2 separate regions of the Homo sapiens genome follow, and region 1 is linked to region 2. The links are contacts of gene promoters, found by promoter capture Hi-C in human tissues and cell types (Jung and others, 2019). All regions are on one chromosome and are shown on one strand. The core of a region is centred on a gene start or on the middle of the fragment in contact, and the rest is flanking DNA. Distances in the headings are between cores, read along the strand shown.

Region 1 (3,072 bases), core at 282-2,781, 1.7 Mb before region 2:
ACTTCTGGTTGCGACGGTTATTTTGAGTCATGGGCCAGCTAGCTGGCTGGCTGGGGCAGCGAGGCTGTAAATCTGTTGCTCAGCATTCCTTTCCAAGGTGGGGACATTCTACAACCTTGGTTGATATTCTGGATCTTTTAAGGCCAGTTCCTGAAATTCTTTAAGTAAAAGGCCTGGTTAAATATTACAAGAGCACAGAAGAGCACTATAAACGGCTGTTTTCCTTGTATGACCAAAGTCTCAGGGTTAGCGAGTTTGGTGTCAAGCCAGGTAGTGGCGTGGGGTGTGTGATCCGTGGAAGGCATGAGAGAATGCTCTAGTGGGGGGTTAACCGAGCCAGCCCGTCCCTACTCTGTCTCAGGTATGACTGTGTAAATAAATGTCCGTCCACACCCTGGCGGCAAATGAAATGCCCTTGCCAGCAGACCATGCCCAGAGGTTGTTTGAGCAACTGCCTCCCAGCACCACAGGGTTCCTTAATTACCATAAAGGATGTTAAAAGTCATTCAGGATTTGTGTTTGGCCAGAAGTTTGAGCGGTGTCTCTTTTTTTTTTCTTTCTTTCTTTTTTTTTTTTTTTTTGAGACGGAGTTTCGCTCTTGTTGGGCAGAGGCTGGAGTGCAATGGCGTGATCTCGGCTCACCGCAACCCTCGCCTCCCGGGTTCAAGTGATTCTCCTGCCTCAACCTTCTGAGTAGCCGGGATTATAGGCATGTGCCACCACGCCCAGCTAATTTTTTTTTTGTATTTTTGGTAGAGATGGGGTCTCCGTGTTGGTCAGACTGATCTTGAACTCCCGACCTCAGGTGACCCACCTGCCTCGGCCTCTCAAAGTGCTGGGATTATAGGTGTGAGCCACTGTGCCCGACCCTGAGCGGTGTCTTAGTTAGCGGGGGATGCTTTAACAAAATGCACAAAGTAACAAAAGAGCCAAGCCATGAAAGAGAAAGCAACAGGAGAAGCAAGGAAAGCACAGATTTACTGAAGACATTTCAGAGTGGGAGCAGGCTCAAGCAAGCGGCTCAGGTGCCTCTTCTTTTGGGTTTTTGTTTTGTTTTGTTTTTTGAGACCGAGTCTCTGTCGCCCAGGCTGGAGTGCCAGTGGTACGATCTCGGCTCACTGCAAGCTCCGCCTCCCGGGTTCACGCCATTCTCCTGCCTCAGCCTCCCGAGTAGCTGAGACTATAGGCACCCACTGCCACGCCTGGCTAATTTTTTTGTATTTTCAGTAGAGATGGGGTTTCACCGTGTTAGCCAGGATGATCTCGATCTCCTGACCTCGTGATCCGCCCGCCTCGGCCTCCCAAAGTGCTGGGATTACAGGCGTGAGCATGAATTTCTTCTTTACATGTAGCTTCCAGTACCCAGATCACATGATTTTTGATGGAAGTCCAGTGTGATCCGTATTCTTGTTCCTCTATAGGAAGGTACTTTCCCTCCGACATCTTTCAAGATATTCTGTCTCTGGTTTCCTGCAGTTTGAATACGACATGCCAAAGTTCCTATTTTTTGGCATTTGTTGTACTTAGTGTTCTCTAAGCTTCCTAGATCTGTGGTTTGGTGTCTGACACCAATTTTGAAAAATGAGAAGCCATTATTACTTCAAATATTTCTTCTATCCCTTTCTCCCTCTCCTCTTCTGGTATTGCCATTATGAGTGTGTAAATTACCTTCTATAATTGTCCCGTAGTTCTAGGATATTCTGTTCAGTTATTTTTACTCTTTTTTCTCCTTGCATTTCAGTTGGGGAAGTCTATGGACATGTCCTCAGCTTGCAGATTCTCTCCTGGGCTGTGTCCAGTCCACTGACGTCCGAGGCACAATCCCCCGTGTGACCCTGCCTGGCGGCGGCCTCTTGTTAGAGCTGTAAGTCACACAGGCTTCTGCCTGTCCTCTAGCTGAGTGTCACTGTATTGCGTCCCACCACCAAAAGAATCTTTAGATCTTATAAAACATCAATACACAGGCTTCTGCCTCTCCTCTAGCTGAGTGTCACTGTATTGCGTCCCACCACCAAAGGAATCTTTAAATCGTACAAAACATCAATAAAGGATTTGAGTCCTAAATATACAAGGATTTCTTTCTTTCTTTCCTCTCTTTCTTTCTCTCTCTCTTTCTTTCCTTCTCTCTTTTCTTTCTTTCCCTTCCTTCCTTTGTTTTCTCTCCTCTGTTTCTCCCTTTCTCTCTTTCTCTTTCGTCTTGCTGTTGCCCAGGCTGGAGTGCAGTGGCGTGATCTTGGCCCACTGACACCTCCACTTCCCAGGTTCAAGTGATTCTCCTGCCTCGGCCTCCCGAGTAGCTGGGATTACAGGCGCCTGCCACCACACCCGGCTAATTTTTGTATTTTTAGTAGAGATGGGGTTTTATCATGTTGGCCAGGCTGGTCTCGAACTCCTGACCTCAAGTAATCCGCCCGCCTCAGCCTCCCAAAGTGCTGGGATTACAGGCATGAGCCACTGCGCCCAGCCTTTTTTCCTTTTTTTTTTTTTAAATAGGGTCTTGCTCTACCACCCAGGCTGGAGTGCAGTACAGTAGCACACATCAGCTCACTGCAACCTCTGTCCCCTGGGCTAAAGTGATCCTCCCGCCTTAGCCTCCTGAGTAGCGGGTACTACAGGCGTGTGTCACCATGCCGGGCTAATTTTTGTACTCTTTTTTTATTTTGTAGAGAAGAGGTCTCACCATGTCGCCCAAGCTGGTCTCAAACTCCTGAGCTCAAGTGATCTGCCTGCCTCGGCCTCCCAAAGTGCTCAGATTACGGGTGTGAGCCACCACAACTGGCGAAAGAATTCTTAAAACTCAACAATAAGGGAACAACCTAACCAAAAAATAGGCAAAAGATCTAGACACCTCACCAAAGAAGATATACAAATGGCAAATACACATATGGAAAGTTCTGAACGCCATGCCATGAGAAAAGTACAAATTCAAACAATGAAACATCGCTAAGCACTGCTTACAATGGCTGAAGTCCAGAACACTGACAACACTGGGTGCTGGCGGGACATGGCACTCTCCTTCATTGCTGGTGGGAACACTGTAATGGTGTAGCCACTTTGGAAGGCACTTTGGTG
Region 2 (3,275 bases), core at 776-3,275:
GTTTCTGCCAGATTTGGCAGTCAGGTCAATTCCAGTGAAATGGTGAGGCCAAAAGCCTGATCATATAGCTCAAAGCAGAGACACCAATGTGTATCGTCCTGAGGAAGGTTGAAAAAACAAAAAACAAAACAAAACAAAAAAACAGCTAAGCAGGTGGCTAGAAAGGGATCGCTCAAGGGAGGCTGCTTCCAGCATGCGGTAAAGCCAGTACTAGTTTTCTCACCTATAAAACTAGGATAACAGCACACACTCCCCCAGCCTAATCACAGGGGAACCTAAAACTCAAGGTTCTTTTAAGACTTATAATCACTGTTGCCTTCTACCTTCAGAACAGTCACTTTGTGCTTTTCCACCATACAGTTCAAAATACAGACACTCTTTAGGCTGGGCATGGTGGCTCACACCTGTTATCCAAGCACATTGGGAGGCTGAGGCGGGTGGATTGCTTCAGACCAGGAGTTTGAAACCAGCCTGAGCAACATGGTGAAACTCCATCTCTACCAAAAATACAAAAATCAGCTAGGTGTGACGGATGCACCTATAGTCCCAGCTACTGCCGAGGCTGAGACGGGAGGATGGCTTGAGCCAGGGAGTGGAGGCTGCAGTGAGCTGAGATCATGCCACTGCACTCCAGCCTGGGACTGACAGAGACTCCATCTCAGGAAAAAAAAAAAAAAATTTAAAGTGTTTTAAAGTTGTAGGAGAAAATTTTTAGGTGCAAGATTCTTTATGTAAGACTAAGAGTCCTCTTAAAATTAGTCAAACTAATAATCTACAACAGAGCTGTTAATTTGGCAACAAATTTTTAATTTGTATCAATCTAATGTCTGTCTTTCACATACTTCCAAACATTACATAAATTATTTTACCTAGTGCATACAACTTTCAAAAACTGTATTTGGCAATTAACAGACCCCTGACAATTATTAACAGGGGTTTTACATCCCGGAGTTTGAGTGTCTGCGGGAGAACCGTCCCTGCAGGAGGCACTCCCCCTCCACCTGCGACCCGGGCTGGGAGAACGCGCGGAGGGCTCCCTTGAGCGGTCTCCGCCAGCGAGGCTTTCCTCCCGGTCGGTGTTGACAGTGTGGCATTTCTGTTATCTAATTTCTGGTTTTGACTGAAAGCGAAGTGAGTTTTCTCATCAGTGGAGTTGTAATATTTCTGCAAAAAAAAAAAAGATCACAGCCCTCCGATGAGCCGGGCACTATGCGAAGTCTCCGGCTGCCTGCGGGCCGCTGTGGACGCCCCGGCGGGGGTCAGGACCGACCCCCATCTGCGCGGCGAACGAGCCCGGACGCCCTGGCCGCGGCCGCCGGGTCCCCGCCCAGGGGCCAGGTGGCCAGGTTGCGTCGGGAGGAGGAAATGGAAGCGCTCTGAGCGACTAGCGAGCGGCAGGAGCCGCCTCCCGCGGGCTTTCCTCGCGGGCCGGGAGCGTCTGCCGCCGACCCGAGGACCGCAGGGCCCCGCTCGCCGCCCGCGCCCGTCAGAAAGCCGCGCGTCGCTCCCGTCGCTGTCGGGGTCGTCGGCTCGGGGAGTCGCCCGCCGTCCACCGGTGAACGGGAGCGCGTCCTCCCCTCCGAGGGACTAAGCGCTCGCGCCACGCATCCCGCCGCGCCGGAAGCGGGGACTACTGGCGGCCCAGCTGGGCAGGACCGCGGCCGAATGACCCGGGGCGACCCCGCAGCAAGGGCGCCTCCGGCAGGCGGCAAAGTCCCCTGAGAATCGGCGCGCTCCTCGCCGCGACGGACTCCACCCGGCCGGGGCGCTCAGCCTCCTCGCCGTGGCCCCCAGCCCGGCCGCCTCCCCTAACGGCCGCCGCAGGCTCCCCTCATGGACCGAGAGCGCGGGCTTGCAGCGCGGCAGCGTCCGTTCGGCGCGCGGCTCCGGGCAGGCCCGCCCTCCCCCGTCCCCCTGCGCCGCGAGGCCCCCCCCCCGCCCCGCCCTCCGGCGCCCGGCGCCCAATCAGAGTGCCGCGCACGTGACGAGCGATGCCTGCGATGACCTCATCCCTGGTGTGGGATGACGTCAAATTCAAGATGGATGGAATCACAGCGGCAGCGGCGGCTGCGGCGCGCGCGAGCCGAGTGTGAGCGGAAAGGGGCCCGGCGTCTGCCTCGAGACTGAAGACCGGTGAGTAACTGTCACGCCCCTAGCTCTAGGAGAACTGCGGGGCTCCTTGGGAGGCTACAGCCTCCCCGCAAAACGCGGCCTTTCCTGACGTAACTCTGAGGTGATTTCTCTCCTCTTTTTTCTCCACCAGCGGGTTGCGGGCTCCGAGCGCTTCTGCGCGTGCGCGGGACCTGGGCGCTCACCGAGCATGTCCCGGGTTCCCACGTAGCCGATTGTACCTTCACACTGCGCACGCTCCCTGCCAGCACTTGGCCTCGCCCTCGCGAATGCGCATGCTCCATTCCCTCACGGGCTTCACTCTTCACCCTGGCCGAGCTGCCCCTGGGGTAGGGGACACGCCTGGCCCAGGCGCGCGCCCCTCGCGCGGAGCGGTTGAAACGCCTCGTGGAGAAGGGCGCGTTCTCCTGTTCCGGGCAGGGGTTGGGGGCCGGCGGCCCGGGCCGCGGGGTGTGCGCGGAAGCTGGCCGGCGGCCTTGGGGACCCCGCACCTGCCGCGACCCGCCGCTCCCTTCACGGTCCGGGACCTAGCCCCGCCGCCCCGTCCTCGGCCCGGTGGCCGGAGCGTGACCGCTCGGTGCCCGCTGGACGCTCCCTCCCCGCCCCCGGCCCCTCCCGCGGACGCCTGGACCTCACAGCGCGTTTTTTTTCCTCCAGAGCCCCCGCAGACCTTGTCTGGGACTTCCCGGCGGTCCCGCAGAGCATAGCACCCTCCGCCGGCCAGGAGCCCTGCTGCTCGGCCGGCGACCGTCTCCCCGCTTGGAGGAGCCCCCTTCCCCCCGTCCGAGGTCCGCGGCTGGAGGGGCAGGGAGTCAAGACGCCACCCGTGCCGGCCTTAGAGACGCCCGCGGCAGCCCCGCCACATCTCTTCCCGGCTTTTCGGGAACACGCCCCGTAGTCCATCCTCAGCGGCTCCTGCTTTTCCATCCCAGCACACCGCTGGGGGCTCGCACTCTGCCCCCGGTTGCTATGCGGTCCCAGCCACGAGGGCTCTGCGGTTCGGGAGAATTCCGCAAGAGCGCGCGTTCGGAGGCGGGGTGTTTTTAGACAGGTGCCCCGGTGGGATTGCCTGACCGAGAGGACGGGGAAAGTTAGACTTCACACGGCCTGGGGTTTTTCCTTTCGTGCAAGCGCTCACAGCCCTG

Evidence for each region. The method cuts DNA at HindIII sites, captures the fragments that hold promoters and counts their contacts. A contact is called where the count stands out against the background at its distance.
Region 1: a contact is called between a fragment that was not itself captured here and the fragment with the promoter of ZBTB21 in region 2, in 1 of the 25 tissues and cell types used here (dorsolateral prefrontal cortex).

What each region holds. Positions count from the first base shown.
Region 1 is chr21:43,709,708-43,712,779 of GRCh38, reverse strand. It overlaps LOC124905031 (a long non-coding RNA gene), which reads left to right and starts at 505. Exons shown (of 2, transcript XR_007067895.1): 1 at 505-1,425; 2 at 1,742-2,064. RefSeq lists enhancers at 71-692, 758-1,639. The HindIII fragment of the contact is 7,963 bases long and covers 1-3,072 here.
Region 2 is chr21:42,009,110-42,012,384 of GRCh38, reverse strand. It overlaps ZBTB21 (zinc finger and BTB domain containing 21), which reads left to right and starts at 2,025. Exons shown (of 3, transcript NM_001098402.2): 1 at 2,025-2,133. ZNF295-AS1 (ZNF295 antisense RNA 1) reads right to left here and starts at 3,191. Exons shown (of 2, transcript NR_119384.1): 1 at 2,801-3,191. RefSeq lists silencers at 1,213-1,952, 2,393-2,702, 2,743-2,852. The HindIII fragment of the contact is 7,901 bases long and covers 1-3,275 here.